5 separate regions of the Homo sapiens genome follow, and regions 2, 3, 4 and 5 are each linked to region 1. Evidence: promoter capture Hi-C in human tissues and cell types (Jung and others, 2019). All regions are on one chromosome and are shown on one strand. The core of a region is centred on a gene start or on the middle of the fragment in contact, and the rest is flanking DNA. Distances in the headings are between cores, read along the strand shown. Region 1 holds the start of FXN (frataxin). Region 2 overlaps TJP2 (tight junction protein 2). Region 3 overlaps TJP2 (tight junction protein 2). Region 4 overlaps TJP2 (tight junction protein 2). Region 5 overlaps TJP2 (tight junction protein 2).

Region 1 (3,388 bases), core at 513-3,012:
GGCATATACATAACAGTATTTAAGCAGCTGCCTAGAATTAATTAAACACAGAAGGATGTCTCTCATCCAGAATGCCCTGGACCACCTCTTTGATAGGCAATCAGATCCCACCTCCTCCACCCTATTTTTGAAGGCCCTGTGCCAACACCACTTCTTCCATGAATACTTCCTTGATTCCCCCATCCCTAGCTCTATATAAATCTCCCACTCAACACTCACACCTGTTAGTTTACATTCCTCTTGACACTTGTCATTTAGCATCCTAAGTATGTAAACATGTCTCTCTTCACGATTCACAAAGTGGCTTTGGAAGAACTTTAGTACCTTCCCATCTTCTCTGCCATGGAAAGTGTACACAACTGACATTTTCTTTTTTTTTAAGACAGTATCTTGCTATGATGGCCGGGCTGGAATGCTGTGGCTATTCACAGGCACAATCATAGCTCACTGCAGCCTTGAGCTCCCAGGCTCAAGTGATCCTCCCGCCTCAGCCTCCTGAGTAGCTGAGATCACAGGCATGCACTACCACACTCGGCTCACATTTGACATCCTCTAAAGCATATATAAAATGTGAAGAAAACTTTCACAATTTGCATCCCTTTGTAATATGTAACAGAAATAAAATTCTCTTTTAAAATCTATCAACAATAGGCAAGGCACGGTGGCTCACGCCTGTCGTCTCAGCACTTTGTGAGGCCCAGGCGGGCAGATCGTTTGAGCCTAGAAGTTCAAGACCACCCTGGGCAACATAGCGAAACCCCCTTTCTACAAAAAATACAAAAACTAGCTGGGTGTGGTGGTGCACACCTGTAGTCCCAGCTACTTGGAAGGCTGAAATGGGAAGACTGCTTGAGCCCGGGAGGGAGAAGTTGCAGTAAGCCAGGACCACACCACTGCACTCCAGCCTGGGCAACAGAGTGAGACTCTGTCTCAAACAAACAAATAAATGAGGCGGGTGGATCACGAGGTCAGTAGATCGAGACCATCCTGGCTAACACGGTGAAACCCGTCTCTACTAAAAAAAAAAAAAAATACAAAAAATTAGCCAGGCATGGTGGCGGGCGCCTGTAGTCCCAGTTACTCGGGAGGCTGAGGCAGGAGAATGGCGTGAAACCGGGAGGCAGAGCTTGCAGTGAGCCGAGATCGCACCACTGCCCTCCAGCCTGGGCGACAGAGCGAGACTCCGTCTCAATCAATCAATCAATCAATAAAATCTATTAACAATATTTATTGTGCACTTAACAGGAACATGCCCTGTCCAAAAAAAACTTTACAGGGCTTAACTCATTTTATCCTTACCACAATCCTATGAAGTAGGAACTTTTATAAAACGCATTTTATAAACAAGGCACAGAGAGGTTAATTAACTTGCCCTCTGGTCACACAGCTAGGAAGTGGGCAGAGTACAGATTTACACAAGGCATCCGTCTCCTGGCCCCACATACCCAACTGCTGTAAACCCATACCGGCGGCCAAGCAGCCTCAATTTGTGCATGCACCCACTTCCCAGCAAGACAGCAGCTCCCAAGTTCCTCCTGTTTAGAATTTTAGAAGCGGCGGGCCACCAGGCTGCAGTCTCCCTTGGGTCAGGGGTCCTGGTTGCACTCCGTGCTTTGCACAAAGCAGGCTCTCCATTTTTGTTAAATGCACGAATAGTGCTAAGCTGGGAAGTTCTTCCTGAGGTCTAACCTCTAGCTGCTCCCCCACAGAAGAGTGCCTGCGGCCAGTGGCCACCAGGGGTCGCCGCAGCACCCAGCGCTGGAGGGCGGAGCGGGCGGCAGACCCGGAGCAGCATGTGGACTCTCGGGCGCCGCGCAGTAGCCGGCCTCCTGGCGTCACCCAGCCCAGCCCAGGCCCAGACCCTCACCCGGGTCCCGCGGCCGGCAGAGTTGGCCCCACTCTGCGGCCGCCGTGGCCTGCGCACCGACATCGATGCGACCTGCACGCCCCGCCGCGCAGTAAGTATCCGCGCCGGGAACAGCCGCGGGCCGCACGCCGCGGGCCGCACGCCGCACGCCTGCGCAGGGAGGCGCCGCGCACGCCGGGGTCGCTCCGGGTACGCGCGCTGGACTAGCTCACCCCGCTCCTTCTCAGGGCGGCCCGGCGGAAGCGGCCTTGCAACTCCCTTCTCTGGTTCTCCCGGTTGCATTTACACTGGCTTCTGCTTTCCGAAGGAAAAGGGGACATTTTGTCCTGCGGTGCGACTGCGGGTCAAGGCACGGGCGAAGGCAGGGCAGGCTGGTGGAGGGGACCGGTTCCGAGGGGTGTGCGGCTGTCTCCATGCTTGTCACTTCTCTGCGATAACTTGTTTCAGTAATATTAATAGATGGTATCTGCTAGTATATACATACACATAATGTGTGTGTCTGTGTGTATCTGTATATAGCGTGTGTGTTGTGTGTGTGTGTTTGCGCGCACGGGCGCGCGCACACCTAATATTTTCAAGGCTGGATTTTTTTGAACGAAATGCTTTCCTGGAACGAGGTGAAACTTTCAGAGCTGCAGAATAGCTAGAGCAGCAGGGGCCCTGGCTTTTGGAAACTGACCCGACCTTTATTCCAGATTCTGCCCCACTCCGCAGAGCTGTGTGACCTTGGGGGATTCCCCTAACCTCTCTGAGACGTGGCTTTGTTTTCTGTAGGGAGAAGATAAAGGTGACGCCCATTTTGCGGACCTGGTGTGAGGATTAAATGGGAATAACATAGATAAAGTCTTCAGAACTTCAAATTAGTTCCCCTTTCTTCCTTTGGGGGGTACAAAGAAATATCTGACCCAGTTACGCCACGGCTTGAAAGGAGGAAACCCAAAGAATGGCTGTGGGGATGAGGAAGATTCCTCAAGGGGAGGACATGGTATTTAATGAGGGTCTTGAAGATGCCAAGGAAGTGGTAGAGGGTGTTTCACGAGGAGGGAACCGTCTGGGCAAAGGCCAGGAAGGCGGAAGGGGATCCCTTCAGAGTGGCTGGTACGCCGCATGTATTAGGGGAGATGAAAGAGGCAGGCCACGTCCAAGCCATATTTGTGTTGCTCTCCGGAGTTTGTACTTTAGGCTTGAACTTCCCACACGTGTTATTTGGCCCACATTGTGTTTGAAGAAACTTTGGGATTGGTTGCCAGTGCTTAAAAGTTAGGACTTAGAAAATGGATTTCCTGGCAGGACGCGGTGGCTCATGCCCATAATCTCAGCACTTTGGGAGGCCTAGGAAGGTGGATCACCTGAGGTCCGGAGTTCAAGACTAACCTGGCCAACATGGTGAAACCCAGTATCTACTAAAAAATACAAAAAAAAAAAAAAAAGAAGAAGAAGAAGAAGAAAATAAAGAAAAGTTAGCCGGGCGTGGTGTCGCGCGCCTGTAATCCCAGCTACTCCAGAGGCTGCGGCAGGAGA
Region 2 (3,725 bases), core at 689-3,188, 170 kb after region 1:
CTTGAACTCCTGGCCTCAGGTGATCCTCCCACCTCAGCCTCCCAAAGTGCTGGGATTATAGGCATGAGCCACGGTGCCCAGCCTGGATTTTTTTTTTTTTTTTTTTTTTTTGAGACAGGGTCTCGCTCTATGGCCCAGGCTGGAATGCAGTGGCCCGATCTCAGGTCACTGCAACCTCCGCCTCCTGGGCTCAGGTGATCCTCCTACCTCAGCCTCCCAAGTATCTGGGACTACAGGTGTGCACAACCATGCCCAGCTAATTTTTCTATTTTTAGTAGAGATGGGGTTTCACCATGTTGGCCAGGCTGGTCTTGAACTTCTGGCTCAAGCGATCTGCCCATCTCAGCCTCCCAAAGTGCTAGGATTACAGGCGTGAGTGACTGCGCCTGGCAAAGTGTAGGATTTGAAACATAAACTTGTATTCATTTTTGATCTCATTTAACTGTCATAACATGAAGAACTCAACTCTTAGGGAAGGACACACATTTCCCAGTGCCTGTCCAGCACCAGCACGAGTGCTTTGTAGAGATTGCCTCATTTCTTGCCGACATTGCCCTTCTGAAGTGTAGATGGTTTTATCGCCACTGTATAAAGAAGGGTATAGTGTATCCAACGCCCCACAGCTAAGTGACAGGACAAGGATCTCACTCCAGATCTTGTGACTTTAAAAATCACTTTCTTGGCTCTGCTTCTCCTTGTTTCCTAGATGGTGGCCATCTCATGGTCCAGATTTATATACATCTCAGCCTCAAATCAAATGGCACACTTTACATTTGCACGCTGTTTGGCCAAGCCCATTGGCATATAACATACACTATGGTAGCAAGAATTGGCCAGAGGCTCCCCAAGACCAGACTTCTGAATTCCTAACCCCAGCTCCCAAGCCCCAGGCATCCCATAAAATCTTTGCTAGATGTTCAGAAACCTAAAATTTGCTTCTCCACCCCTCCCTTCTCCCCAAGTGGTAAAGACAAAGAACAGACGGCAGGGCTCTTTGTTATTCTTTTATCTGCTAAGTTTACAAAAAGGTTAGACAGTGGAACTTTGCTGAGCAAGCATTCTGTCCCTGAGTTGTCTCTGAGCAGCACCAAATGAGTCTTATCTTCCCCTTGTTATCTCCAAGGACGTAAAACATTTTCTTTTCATGCTTTTTAATTTCTGTGTAACATTAGCCATTCAGTTGACCTGAAACATTGCTAGTTTATTTCTAGCTGGCGTGTGTGTGTGTGTATCAGAGGGTCTATACTGTATAAATACTTCTCTAAATATTCTTTTCCATAATGTTGCTCTAAAGTGTCTCATTTACTCAATTCTGTCAACTTAGATGCTGAATCATTTTATGTGCTTAAAAGAAATATCTACTCGGATGCTCTAGTTCCCTGGCAAGGGAGAGAGAGGGAGAGAAAGAAAGCTGTTGAAGTGGTGCAAATCCAAACTGCTTTCTTTTTTGCTCATAAGTAGTGCTTTTCAAAGCGTTTGGCATCCCTGCCATATGGATGTGTCACTGTGTGAGATGACAACAGGATTTGCTGGAAATGTGGGCCACTATTGTATCCGCCTTACGTAACCACATGGAGTGATGGAAATGGGTGAGCAGCCCGGAATGTAGGCGGTGGCCTGGCCCATGCATCTCCAGAGACCATGAAGACTGCTCAAGCCCTACATAGGATGTGGATCCAGGCTGTTAAAAAGTTGAGGAGATGGAAAGGCCGTGTGAGTCCCTCTGCAAGCTCTCCCCTTGTTTTCCCCAACCTTTCTTCATGGGAAGGGGAGGGAAGCAAAACCATTCTCACAGTGAGTCCTTTATCCTCAGATTGATTTGTGCTTCTGGCATCTTTCAGCAACAAATTGTGAGATTGTAGGTTGTAGTCACTGGTGGGTTTTTAAAAATACTTGTATTAATTTTAGCAGATCTATGTGAAACTGATAGCCTCTTACTGGATCTGTGGATCAAAGGCTGCTGTTTTCCATGTGCTAGGAATCTGTAATGGTTTTGCTTCCTGGGTAGAGCTTAACATACTGGCTTTTGTGTTTGTTCATGTTTGAGAATTTCTTGTTTTGGGATAAAACTTTTTGCTTTCTTACACTGCAGAAATCTATATTCTTATTATGTCTAGGCTTCTAACTTAGAAGAAAAAGTGTTTTTCACATGTTCTTTTTTCCTCTTACAGTTTGAACATGTGTGAGTGTTTACTTTGATGGCTTGAGACTTTTATGAAGCATGTCCCTTACGTGGACAGCTTGCGATTAATCTTTGGTTTTAGCTTTGACCTCCATCACTGGGCAGCAGCAGTCTGTGGATACAGAATCTAAAAGCCGCCTGTTCAGGGGGACTTTGGGCAGTGAACACTTCGGTATCTGTTTTGGGGTTGGCTTTTAACATGTTTCTACATTCTTTATGTAAAATATATAGGATTTTTACCTATCTGGCCAAGATTTTTCAAAGGAAAAAAGCTTTATAAAAAGATTAAAAAAAAACACAATAAGTAACTATTTGCCTTAGTTCCTTTCTCTTCTTTTGTCACACAAAAACCTTACTGTTAATGCATTAAGTTTTTTGTTTATGGTAGAAAAGTTAGCTCACTTTTAACTTTCCATGAGGTCTTAAGAATGACCTGTTAGATATAAAGGGGGTTGTCATGAACACTACTTACGTGAAAAGTAAAAGTGATAAGGAAAGATGATGAAAGCACATTGAAGATCCTCCTAATGGATAGAATGTTGACACTTGGATTAAAAAGGTGACTTGGCGTTTTCTGCATACACCTCCCCCCACAACTCCCCAGACCTAACCTGCGTCCCCACTCTGCCCACCGCACCTGCCTTGCTTTACCCTCTTTGCCCCTTTCAAATTACTGGTACCATCCTTCAACTCGCCCTCCTTCCAGTTGAAATTATTATCCCCTCTTCACTTTGCAAAATTCTAACTGCATTGAAAAATTTGCTGTTAAATATACTCGTACCTCTTGGGTATTAGATCCTTCACCAGGAGTCAGTATTCATTTTGGTGTTCACCCACTCATCTCCCTATTTTTTATTTATTTATTTATTTATTTAATTTTTTTATTTCTTTTTGAGACGGAGTCTTGCTCTGTTGCCCAGGCTGGAGTGCAGTGGCGCGATTTCGGCTCACTGCAAGCTCCACCTCCCGGGTTCGAGCCATTCTCCTGCCTCAGCCTCCCGAGTAGCTGGGACTACAGGTGCCTGCCACCACACCTGGCTAATTTTTTGTATTTTTAGTAGAGATGGGGTTTAACCATGTTAGTCAGTATGGTCTTGATCTCCTGACCTCGTGATCCACCCGCCTCGGCCTCCCAAAGTGCTGGGATTACAGGCGCGAGCCATCGCGCCCGGCCTCATCTCCCTATTTTTTAAACTTATGAAATGTTTGGTACCATAAAAGAATTAAATATCTAAATCATGGAGCATAATAATTAAACAAATGCCATGAGCCCATTACACATATCTGCAGACCATCACCAAGACAAAACACGAAGGAAATTTGTGTACCTCCCACCATACTCTGCCTCCTGCCCAGGTCACCTCATCCTGAATGTTATGTTTTTCATTTCCTTGCTTTTTCTTTATATTTCCACTGCATGCGTGCGTACACACACACACGCCCCTAAACAATAGATTAATTTTGTTGGCAATTTTTTACTATAGTGAAAAACGCATACCAAAATTTACTGTCTGTACCATTTGTAAATGTACAGTTCAGTAGT
Region 3 (3,803 bases), core at 30-2,529, 150 kb after region 1:
AAAATAGAGCCAGAGGGGAGCTTCTTATGGGCATTGACCTAATTCACTCCTTTTGGCAAAAATGCTTGGTTTTAAATCAATGTATGTATTTCTGACCCAAATATCTATAAATATTTCAGCTAGTAGTGTTACAGCTGGAGGAAGGGACCCGTGGTGTTGCTTCGTGTATTTTGATTTGACAATATTCTTTAGAAATAAATTGTCAAGTGAACTAATATTACACAAAAGTTAGGGAAAGTTAAGAGAGGCAGCTGAAATTCCATCAGTTTCCTCCTTAGTCCCTGGAACCTCCCCACAATCAGGAATTTGTTAGTCACCTGGTTTTTAAAGATAAATTTCTCTGTGGGCGTTTCTGCTGAGAAATGTGGGGAAACAGGACTGGGCTAAAAATAAAATTAGTTCAGGCATTGCTAAACTTCTAAGTATCATGTTTGTGATGTACTTTTCCAGGAAACATAAATTGGCAATATTTTTGCTCCTTTTTACTACCACAGAAAGAATATTTGCAGTCAGCATGCACGGCCTGAAAGAATCTCTCTCGCCTATTAATAGAACAGAAGGAACATACACATGTCTATGTGGGGGAAAAACATCTCATTTGGCTTAGTAGTAAGCTCCAAATAACAATTGCATTGTTGTTCTGAATTGTCTTTGAGTGTGATTGGATGATTAAATATAAATGTTGACCTGATTGGATTATATCACAGCAATGAACTGTCCTGAAAAAACAGCTGTAACATACCACTCCAGACTGTTACCAGACTTAGTCGGCTGGCTTTATATTTGTGTTGTCAAAACTGGGATGCTGTCATTTCTGTTTCTCTGTCTCTTTCGTCTGTTCCAATTTGAGATATACTGACTATGTTAGTGTAGTCTGCTACATGGATAGTCCTTTATCTTTCAGCAACATAAGCAACATAAGCTTTTTGACTGAGACGAGCGTAATCAAAAGGAATGCTGGGAAACAGTGAACTGTAAAAAATGTCCTCAATTAGATACAGGCTTCAGTGCATGGGTTTATCCTTTCAGAAGATCGGTGTGTTTTCAGTGAGGGTCTAAACCCACTGGCCTGGATTCCACCTCTTGTTGGATGGGTGGTCAGTTTTAACATTAGGGGGTGTTGATTGTGAGCTCTTGAGAGCAGGGCTGGTTCTTTGCATTCCTAGGTAGGCATGATGTAGAGTAGTTGCTCAGTAAATAGGGGAAGGTGAAAGGAAGAGAAGGGAGAAGGTGAGTCTCAAAAGACTGGAATGTGATAAGCACACGTTTATCACACTGGGGGTGTATTCTCTCCCTTTTCTTAGAGTATTCCTTGCCTCCTGAAAAAAGCACTTTGCAGGAAATATGGAGATCTTCTGAACCTGTGGCTTTGTGTTATTGGACTGAGAAGTCCAAAATGTGCATTAGCGGAGCTTATAGAACTGCTCTGAGAATGTGTTCTTGAGTTCTACAAATATTATGGGGTGCGTTGGGGGCTGGCTCACTCCAGCTCAGTTCCCATGTGTTAAGTGGAACTTCTGATCTGTTGAATGCCTAACCATGACGGAGCCCAGGAGACAAAGTAAGGTGTGGTTTGTTTTGCTGTAAGACCACGTTTGGTTAGCTTTTCTCTAGCAAAGCTGGGGAAGGAGATCACAGGGCTGATGTGGTGGTAGGCCCTTGGTGTAGATCTCACTGACTTTTCCCAGTCAACTAGGAGTAAATGTTAACCCTATTTTATAGGTGGGAAACGGAGGCTCAGAAACATTAAGTAAATTGCCCAGTGTCACACGGCTTGTGTGACAGGGAGGGGATTTGAGCCAAGGTCCATTTGATGAATTTGAAACCTGTAGATTCTGTCAATTCCACCAGTCTCTGCTTTTTAGAATCACAGTGGCAAGAAAATAGGAGAAGCTCAAGGCCCTGTGTTGATTATTAGGAGTTTAAACATCATCGCTGAAAGTGCATAGAAATATTTGTATTCCTAGAGAATCTTAAGTAAAAGTAACATATCAATGTTGTCAAGAGATGTCTTCATTCATCAGAGACCTCTGTGTGTTCATTACTGTATGAGACCCCAAAGACTCTAAGTTGCCTCTAAGACACAGCCTTACAGGGAGGTATTAAGTGATTATGTATACAGCTAGCTAAAACCACAACTTTATTATAGAAATATTAAGAATATGTCTTATCATGTGAGAGTATTCTTTCTTCAAGTCCATAGCCTCCAGTTAGAAATGGCTGTGTTGTCCCATCAACCCCTTCACTCAAAAACTATCATTAATATCAGGAAAAACTTATGGTTACAAACTCCTGGGTTATAGAATTGGAAGGAAAAACTTAGATATGCTGTGTTTGGGAGCTTGCCTTGAGGATTGGAATTCCATTGCAAGTTACCTTGGGGTCAAAGTACATCCCCTAAAACATCAAATACCTCCAAGAGGTTTTAGGCTATCAGACAGCCACACTTTAATGTGGAGTAGACTAGTCAGCTTTCTTCTACTATCTAACTGACACCATACACATTGTTAAAGAGATAATTTTGATTGGGAATGAAGATAGGGAATTTTGAAGCCAGAACATTCTGGTGATGGAGCAGATACTGCCGAGATGTTGGCCTCGGGACAGCCTGGAGGAGGAGGACACTGATAAACAGAGCAACCAGCCCAAGGGGTGGAAAGACCTAGGAAGTCTCCACATACAAATTTTGCTTCTTTCCTGTTTCTCCACTGAACCCTGGGAAGGGTGCTTATTTCTCTCCTCACTGTCTTTCCCCAGGACCCAGAATTGATAGGTTAGTTGAGTTTCTGTGGGCAGTCTAAGGTAGTGTTACTATTTAAAATGTTAGTAACATTTTCAGATTCACTGAGATTCTTGCTGAGTGTGGTGGCATATGCCTGTGGTCCCAACTACTTGGAGACTGAGGCAGGCAGGAGGATCGCTTGAGCCCAGGAGTTGGAGGCTACAGTGAGTTCTGATTGTCCTGTGAATAGGAATAGCCACTGCAGTCCAGCCTGAGCACCACAGTGGAGACTCCACTTTTTTTTTTTTTTTAAGTTTAAAAAAGTTAAAAAAAAAAAAAGACAAAGAAAAAGGAAAGTTGATTTTTGGTTCTAACTCAGTTGTGACAAACGGTGGATATATGGTTCTGACCACATTCTAAATTGGACTTGATGGTGGGCAAGGGAAACTTCCAATGCCTATCCCCTCACTTTAAAAAAACTTCTCCTGGGCCAGGCACGGTGGCTCATGCCTGTAATCCCAGCACTTTGGGAGGCCGAGGTGGACGGATCATGAGGTCAGGAGATCGAGATCATCCTGGCTAACACGGTGAAACCCCGTCTGTACTAAAAATACAAAAAGAAATTAGCCGGGTATGGTGGTGGACGCCTGTAGTCCCAGCTACTTGGGAGGCTGAGGCAGGAGAATGGCATGAACCTGGGAGGTGGAGTTTGCAGTGAGCCAAGATGGCGCCACTGCACTCCAGCCTGGGCAACAGAGCGAGACTCTGTCTCAAAAAACAAACAAACAAACAAACTTCTCCTGTAGCAGTTTGCTTTGAGTTGTGGGTGCCACCTCCCTCACTGTCTTTTTCTGAGGGTACATAAATAAATTGCATCCTAGCTTGAGATCAGGAGCAATGGTTTTTAGTTCTCTGTGTCCAACACAATTCTTCTACACAGTGTCTTGCCCAATACATGTGTTGGTAATACTGACAAACATAGTTAATCTTCTTCTTTGAAGATTATCTGAAGCAAGATTTTGACCTTAGGTCAGCTTCCCCTGAAGTATGTGATTGGAAACTGAACGAGTTCAGATTTTAG
Region 4 (3,910 bases), core at 946-3,445, 190 kb after region 1:
TATCAGCTTCCTAAAGGACTAGGGCATGGGCCACAACACTTCTAATCTTTGTGGTAAGATCTGGCTGACAAGTTTACCGTAAATCATTTAAAACTTATTTTAAAATTGACTTCATACCTTTCCTGAATTGTGGAAAGTTACTTTGTTTTGTAATTATAAGATTTTTAGTTTGAACAATAATAAAAAATTTTGTGCCTGTTTTAAAACCTGCTCTGTTGTGGTAGTTTCCTAAAATGTGAACAGTTATTCTTAAAATAATGTATTTTTACAAGTTTATTAAGTAAAACCAGAAGAGTCTTAAGTAGCATTGAAAGTATTTAAAAATATGCATAACTTAGTAATTACAATGTTTTTGTTTTTGATAGCAATTCAGAGTCCATAAACTCCCAAAGCTATGCTGGTTTTAGTTGAATGCTTTATTAATTACTTTGCCTGACTTCTTTACCCCTTTTCTTCACCCACTGAATTCCTTTCAATGCCAAGCTTCATATAATCTAAAATGCTAGATTTTTTGCAGTGCCTTCCTGTAGACAGCCTCATTGTCAGCAGAACATGCCTATTAAGGTGTGCTGAATTGTTTTTTTTTCTCCCCAACATTTTATTTGAAAAGTGTTAATTTGGCCAGGCGCAGTGGCTCACACCTGTAATCCTAGCACTTTGGGAGGCCGAGGCGGGTGGATCACCTGAGGTCAGGAGTTCGAGACTAGCCTGGCCTACATGGTGAAACCCTGTCTCTACTAAAATACAACAATTAGCTGGGCATGGTGGTGGGCACCTGTAATCCCAGCTACTTGAGAGGCTGAGGCAGGAGAATCACTTGAACCTGGGAGGCAGAGGTTGCAGTGAGCTGAGATCATGCCCCTGCACTCCAGCCTGGGTGACAAAGCAAGATTCTGTCTCAAAAAAAGAAAGAAAAAGAAAATGTTAATTTTATAGCAAATAAACATATAACCTTCATCTAGTTTTACCAGTTGTTAACATTTTGCCACACTTTCTTTTTCCTCCTCCTTTTTTTTTCTTTCCTTCTACTCCATCACCCTTCCTGTTACCTCTCTCAGTGGGTTTTTTGGTACTATTTAAGTAAGTTGCAGGCAACTCACCATTACCCATAAATATTTCAGAGGTATCTTCCAAAGATAAGAACATTCTCCTACATCAGTCACCGTAATACCATTATAACACTTAAGAAGATTAACATTAATATCCCTTTCATATATTATAGTTCATTTTCAGATTGCTCCAAATGATGTAACTCATTCTTCCCCCACCCTCCACTGGATCAGGGACCTATGGTAGTTCATGCATTGCATTTGGTTTTTATGTAACTTTTAATCTGGAACAGTTTCTCTACCTTTTTTGTTTTTTATGGCATTGACTTTTTTGAAGAGTTCAGGCCAGTCATCTTACAGAATTTCCCATATACAAAATTAACTTTTTAATACATATTTTAAAATAGTCCTATAAACCAGACTAAGTTTTTTGAACAAATTGATAACATACGTGTATGTTTATGTGTTTGTCTCCTAGAGTATGGTCTCCGGCTTGGGAGTCAGATCTTCGTAAAGGAAATGACCCGAACGGGTCTGGCAACTAAAGATGGCAACCTTCACGAAGGAGACATAATTCTCAAGGTGGGTAGATGGGGGCAGAGAACGGTAGTGTGCATACTGCCGTTCATCGCCTGCATGTCCACATTCAGCACCCACACAGTGAGACTTAGATCCAGTGAGAGTCAGTGGTAAGACAGAGGTGGCAAGAGCAGCATAATGAGACGATTTTTATCAGAAAAACCAGACATTGAGGGTCGTAACAGTTTAATGTCAGTTTAGAAAACAAAAACAAAAAAACTCCATGAATATTTTCTTCTTTCCTGTTTAAAGTTTAGATCCCTATTCCCTAAACTAAGGAAAGATGAGAAGGAAAGTTGGTGATATATGAATGCTGAATATTTAATAGGTCTTGTAAACCTCTCCAGTCAGGAAACACGTTCCAGTAGTAAACCAAACCGTTGTCTTGAGCTTGGAAGTTAAATAAATTAGCAGAGTAACTTACACCTGTATTTGGGATCCAGGCATGCAGGATTATATTTAATTTAAACGACAATTCATTTTTATTGAGTCATCCTAAAGCCAATATCTGTTTGAATATCTGAGCAAAGCCTTTACATTTTTAGAAGGGGAAAATATGAATTTTCTACTGTGAATAATTTTATTGCATTTAACATTACCATTTTTTATAAACACAGATCAATGGGACTGTAACTGAGAACATGTCTTTAACGGATGCTCGAAAATTGATAGAAAAGTCAAGAGGAAAACTACAGCTAGTGGTGTTGAGAGACAGCCAGCAGACCCTCATCAACATCCCGTCATTAAATGACAGTGACTCAGAAATAGAAGGTAAAGGAAGAGGAGGCTGTGAGCTTAGCTGGAAGTAAGGAAGGCTGTTGCTTCCCCATTCTTCTATTTAGTGTAGCTATCCAGCTGGAAGTTAAATTTCTAAGGAAAGACCCCTTGAAACCTTAATCTCCAAAGGTCACTGGTTGGTTGTTATTTGCTTATTAAAGTGCCTATTGAAATTAGGTTTCCAATACAAAATTCTGGTGCATTTGCGAACTCTCAGAGAACTATTAATTAGGCAATTGAAAGCAAAACTTGTCAGTAAAAAAATGTGTGTTTGAGTGGTTCAAAGAACTAACCATATCATTTATATATTTGCTAATTGCTTATTGTTTTTTTTTGAGACAGAGTTTCCCTCTGTTGCCCAAGCTGGAGTGCAGTGGTACAATCTTGGCTCACTGCAACCTCTGCCTCCCAGGTTCAAGTGATCCTTCTGCCTCAGCCTCCTGAGTAGCTGGGATTATGGGCGCCTGCCACCACACCTGGCTAATTTTTGTATTTTTAGTAGAGACGGGGTTTCACCATGTTGGCCAGGCTGGTCTTGAACTCCTGACCTCGTGATCTGCCCGTCTTGTCCTCCCAAAGTGCTGGGATTACAGGCGTGAGCCACCAGGCCCAGCCTTAATTGCTCATTCTTTAAAAGTGGCTATTAATATCTCTAATAGAGAAGACAATTTGGAGGATAGCTAAAACAAGTAGATGCTCAAAAAGAATCAAAATGGCTAATATTGTGGCATTCATTAATTAGCAGTCTGCATCACCTCTTCCCTTTTAAAGAGCTATATTCATTATTTGAATATGAATTATACATAGGATAACATTTTAACCTTGTAAAAATTGCCAATAAAAATAGTTAATCACAGTATATTCTACTGAACCATCTACTGTTGCTTTTATGCAGAGAAGTTTAGAAAATATTAAGTTACGAAGTTGTAAAGCAGACTTTTGTTGATTTTTTTTTTTAAAGGAATTTCTTTGTAAAACCTTAAAACTTAATTCACTTTCCAGTGTATCAGAAGTTGTTGATGACTGTTACGGGTGCAGTGCAGGAAAACAAAAGGAGCATGAGAAATAATGCCAGCATGTTAGGGGGTTTGCAGTTTATTTCCTTGCTACTCAGTATGTGGTCCTCATCCCCCAACCCCTGACCCCAATAGCATCTGCATAATCAGGTAACTGGATAGAATTGCAGAATCTCAGTCTCCCCTCAACTGCCCCACAACAACTGCATCCTAACAAGATTTGTATGCACCTTAAAGTTTGAGAAGCATTGGGCTGCTTGGGAAGAATTAGTGTATACATCTATGATCCAATAATAGAATTTTGACTCTTCTGTAGCAGCTTTGATGGAAAATGAGACAAAAGAGAAATACACAATTCTAAATTTGCCTTCCCCTTTATTAATTAATGCCTTTCCCTTAAAACGAGCAAGTTTTTCTCCAGGGGAGGACTATTAGACTAATAGCACATTTCCTGCCTACCTCGTTTCCATTTCCCGTGTTTCCTACCCA
Region 5 (3,935 bases), core at 342-2,841, 210 kb after region 1:
CACTGTAAGCATTGAGTTTCATCTAAAACATTGAAGTGATCTTATCTCACCAGAAATTGCCAATCTCTTATGTAGAATTGTACAGTCTTCAGGATAGATGGTGCAGGGTGTGCAGCAACTTTGACCAGCAAGCTCCAATTTTCTAGCAAGTGGTCTTTTACAGTACTCTTCCAGACTTCAAAGTTTGACTCCCTACAGCTGTGTGGATGACTGCACTAATAATTGCTTTTATTCCCCATCTCACCCTCGTCCCTCTTAGCTTGACCAGGTTTTGACTTGAGGCTGTGTGCCATGTCCAGAAACACTAGTCTTTACATTTGAGCAGTAGAATCTTCAGGCAGAATTAGTATTTTATAGTTTTTGTTTGTTTTTGAGACATAGTCTCCCTCTGTCGCCCAAGCTAGAGTGCAGTGGCACGATCTCGGTTCACTGCAACCTCTGCTTCCTGGGCTCAAGGCACCTTCCCTCCTCAGCCTCCCCAGTAGCTGGGACTACAGGCACACACCACCATGCCTGGGTAATTTTTGTATTTTTTCTGGCAACAGGGTTTACCCATGTTGCCCAAGCTGGTCTCAAACCCCTGGGCTCAAGCAATCTGCCCGTGTTGGCCTCCTAAAATGCTGGGATTACAGGCATGAGCCACCGTGCCTGGCCTATTTTGTAGGCTTTTAAAATGATTTTAAGTGTATGGCATTTTTGTGAGTTAGTAGTTGAGAATAATAGAGTGCTTTGATGAACACAGTAATTTGAAGTCAAGCTTTATGTTGCATTAGTCTCTTTAGGCTCAATATCCTTTTGTTTTCCTTTTTGCAAAGTAATAAGAAAGCTCCTCTTCCTCACGAGTATTTAATTATGACAATATGAAAATAGTTCTCCTTACAAGTCTTACAGTACTTCTCAGTTAAACAAGAGAAGCTTTATTCTGAGATTTGCCCAAAGGCAAGTTGACTTGTCATAATAAGTTTAAGTGTTAGGTTTGCCTCCCCTACTACCAATTTTTAAAAATTTTCTATAAAATACATTTGCATATCACAAATTTTTATTTTTAAAAAACAAACTTTGAATTACATGTTTTCTTGGAATCTTCAAAGTACTCAGTGCATGGTTCGAAGATCATTTAAGTTGACTTATGGATTTAGAGACCCAAGTGGGGCTACCCTTTTATGCTAATTATAGAATTTTAATTCCTGATTTCTCAAAGGATTATATAGACTAGCTAGTTGACCACAGAAAAGAGAAGGAAGATGCTGGGCCCCCTAGCTGGATACCTTTGCTGTTGCATGCCCATTTAGAGGGGGTCTAGCGTGCCACTGTTAACCGAGCCACGTGAAAAGCTTTATTGAGTTTTGACTTAGATACCATATAATCCACCCATTGAAAGTATATAGTTCAGCTGGGCATGGTGGCTCACGCCTGTAAATCCCAGCACATTGGGAGGCCAAGGTGGGCAGGTCACTTGAGCTCAGGAGTTTGAGACCAGCCTGGGCAACATGATGAAACCCTGTCTCTATTAAAAATAAAAAAATTAGCTGGGTGTGGTGGTGGGTGCCGGTAGTCCCAGCTACTTGGGAGGCTGAGGTGGGAGGATCACTTAAGCCCGGGAGCTGGAGGTTGCAGTGAGCCGAGATTGCACTACAGCACTCCAGCCTGGGCGACAATGAGACCCTGTCTCAGGAAAAAAAAAAAAAAAAAAAAAAAGTATGCAATTCAGTGGGCTTTAGTATATTCAGAGTTGTACAGCTGTCATCACAACCAATCAATCTTAGAACATTTTTATCATCCCCAAAAGATACCCCATACCCATTAGCAGTCATTCCCCATTTCTCCCTTTCCCTAAACCCTCTAGTCTTAGATGTTACCTTTTGCTGTCGCTCTTGGTGCTTCCAAACCTCCTTGGCTGGGGAGGGGGAGGTAGCACTGACCATACATGTCAGGGCTGGGCACACGTGCCCTCAGAACCTCAGTATTCCCAACTAAGGCAGTGGCTGAGTCAGCATCCTTTCAGTATTTCACTTTCTTGAGCTCAAAAGATAGAGTAAGTCTATCCAAGGGGATATAGGCATAACCCAGAGGTTAGGAGCAACAGATAATTAACTACTATTGCTCTAAGGCAAAGAATCTGAGAAGCGGAATGAGAGAATCCAATAATAAGCTAAAGGTACTTAATTCAGCAGAGTCAAGGGAAGGCAGCTTCATGTCTGTGCACCTGCCTGTTAAAAAGAGGTCAAGTGCATGAGTTGGATGTTACTTTTATATGCAGCTTAGGAAGTTAGCTACTGTGAAGCTCTCAATTTTTATTCATAAACTTGACTGTTAATGTGAATTCAGTAAGAGCTTTTGTGATTTTCTTTATTTTATCAAGGGGCAAGAACATATTTCCTGCATCTCACAAAATGCCGTTTTAACTTTAGGTTTTCTTTATGATGAATGCAGACCATACTTATCTCAGACAGCTGCAACATAAAGCTTTAAAAGACTGCTTAACATTTTGTATATATTTAGTGTAAATCACTCATTTTGTCTCTGGGGTACAAAATCTCACTTCTATTTTTAAGTATCATATTTTAGCTATGAGATGAGCACAGTAATCTTTGCAGAGTACCATAATAGGAATAGAGAAGTCCGTGGAATCAAAGTTAATTTTCTTCGGGTTGTCTAATGGATCAGTTTATTTCAGTGCTGTAAATAATTAATAACCAAGGAAATTGTAAGCTCATTCAGGATTTTCTAAGGTCACTGTTAGAACTTCTTAAACAGAAGAAAGCTATGTTACTTGGAGGAAAACCTGAAGCATCATTGCTTACAAAATTTGCTTAATGGTTCTTTTTGGCTTTAGAAGTGATAGTACAATAAGAGGCCATGGCAATGTAGTTTAAAAGAAATCCTAATTTACCTGCAGTCTGATAATTTTAGGGGTACAATTTGTTATTTTGGACTAACTTGCTTGTCTAATTTATCTCCATTAGGTCCATAATACATATTGCTGAAGAAATGACATATGTTGTACTTTGTTGGTATTTTATATCTGTGCTCTAAATTTCTGTTTTTAGATGGGCCATGTAGTGTGGTGGCTGAGACCATAGGCTCTGAAAGCAGTTTTCTGAGCTTGCATCCAAGCTTCACACTTGCTTGGTGTGTGGCCTTGGGCTAGTTAATTTCACTACTTTACCTTGGTTTCTCATCTATAAGATGGGCATCATAGCAACACCTACCTTGCAAAGTTTGTGTAGTCGTGAAATGAGCTAATCCAGGTAAGGTACTTGGAAAGTAACTGGTTGATGCATAGTAAGTGCTATTATGTAAGATATACTTTGTTCTGAGTAGAAAATGTATATTCTTTGAATACACACTGGTTGGGTTTGTTTAATCTATATGTATATTCTAAAATGTGTAAGTCTATCAAAGTGATATACAGTCAGCTCTCCATGTCTGTGGTTTCCACATTCATGAATTCAACTAGCCGTGTATAGGAAATATTTGAGGGGTAAAATGGATGGTTACATCTAAACGTGCAGGGTTTTTTTCTTGTCATTATTCCCTAAACAATATAGTATAACAACGATTTGCGTAGCATTTACATTGTATTAGGAATTATAAGTAATCCAGAGATGATTTAAAGTATATAAGAGGATGTACATAAGTCATATGCAAATACTGTGTCATTTTGTATCAGATACTCGGCATCTGTGGATTTTGGTATCCAAGTGGGGGGTGTCCCGGAACCAATCCTCTACAGATACCAAGGGACAACTTTATGTTTAAGTGTTACTTTTAGTATTTTATTGGAGGTAGCCAATACAGTATATTAGTGTATACTAATTAGTGTATACACCTCAGCCTCCCAGAGTGCTGAGATTACAGGCATGAGCCACCACACCTGGCCGAAAACACATGTTCTTAAAAACATTTTTAAAAGTTAGCCTTTCTGAAAATAA

What was found. The method cuts DNA at HindIII sites, captures the fragments that hold promoters and counts their contacts. A contact is called where the count stands out against the background at its distance.
Region 2: a fragment that was not itself captured here is called in contact with the fragment with the promoter of FXN in region 1 in 1 of the 25 tissues and cell types used here (hippocampus).
Region 3: a contact is called between a fragment that was not itself captured here and the fragment with the promoter of FXN in region 1, in 3 of the 25 tissues and cell types used here (bladder, dorsolateral prefrontal cortex and hippocampus).
Region 4: a contact is called between a fragment that was not itself captured here and the fragment with the promoter of FXN in region 1, in 2 of the 25 tissues and cell types used here (heart right ventricle and stomach).
Region 5: a contact is called between a fragment that was not itself captured here and the fragment with the promoter of FXN in region 1, in 2 of the 25 tissues and cell types used here (lymphoblastoid cells and mesenchymal stem cells).

Annotation. Positions count from the first base shown.
Region 1 is chr9:69,033,990-69,037,377 of GRCh38, forward strand. It overlaps FXN (frataxin), which reads left to right and starts at 1,763. Exons shown (of 5, transcript NM_000144.5): 1 at 1,763-1,958. The coding sequence starts at 1,794. RefSeq lists silencers at 1,652-2,121, 2,704-2,998 and an enhancer at 2,282-2,331. The HindIII fragment of the contact is 19,714 bases long and covers 1-3,388 here.
Region 2 is chr9:69,203,521-69,207,245 of GRCh38, forward strand. The region is part of intron 1 of TJP2 (tight junction protein 2); the gene reads left to right. Among named protein-coding and RNA genes, the nearest start is that of TJP2, 31 kb to the left of the region's middle. RefSeq lists a silencer at 953-1,247. The HindIII fragment of the contact is 8,597 bases long and covers 1-3,725 here.
Region 3 is chr9:69,186,616-69,190,418 of GRCh38, forward strand. The region is part of intron 1 of TJP2 (tight junction protein 2); the gene reads left to right. Among named protein-coding and RNA genes, the nearest start is that of TJP2, 14 kb to the left of the region's middle. The HindIII fragment of the contact is 3,810 bases long and covers 1-3,184 here.
Region 4 is chr9:69,223,777-69,227,686 of GRCh38, forward strand. It overlaps TJP2 (tight junction protein 2), which reads left to right. Exons shown (of 23, transcript NM_004817.4): 6 at 1,528-1,631; 7 at 2,246-2,399. Among named protein-coding and RNA genes, the nearest start is that of TJP2, 51 kb to the left of the region's middle. The HindIII fragment of the contact is 4,011 bases long and covers 191-3,910 here.
Region 5 is chr9:69,242,510-69,246,444 of GRCh38, forward strand. The region is part of intron 17 of TJP2 (tight junction protein 2); the gene reads left to right. Among named protein-coding and RNA genes, the nearest start is that of BANCR, 63 kb to the right of the region's middle. RefSeq lists an enhancer at 1-272. The HindIII fragment of the contact is 4,818 bases long and covers 1-3,935 here.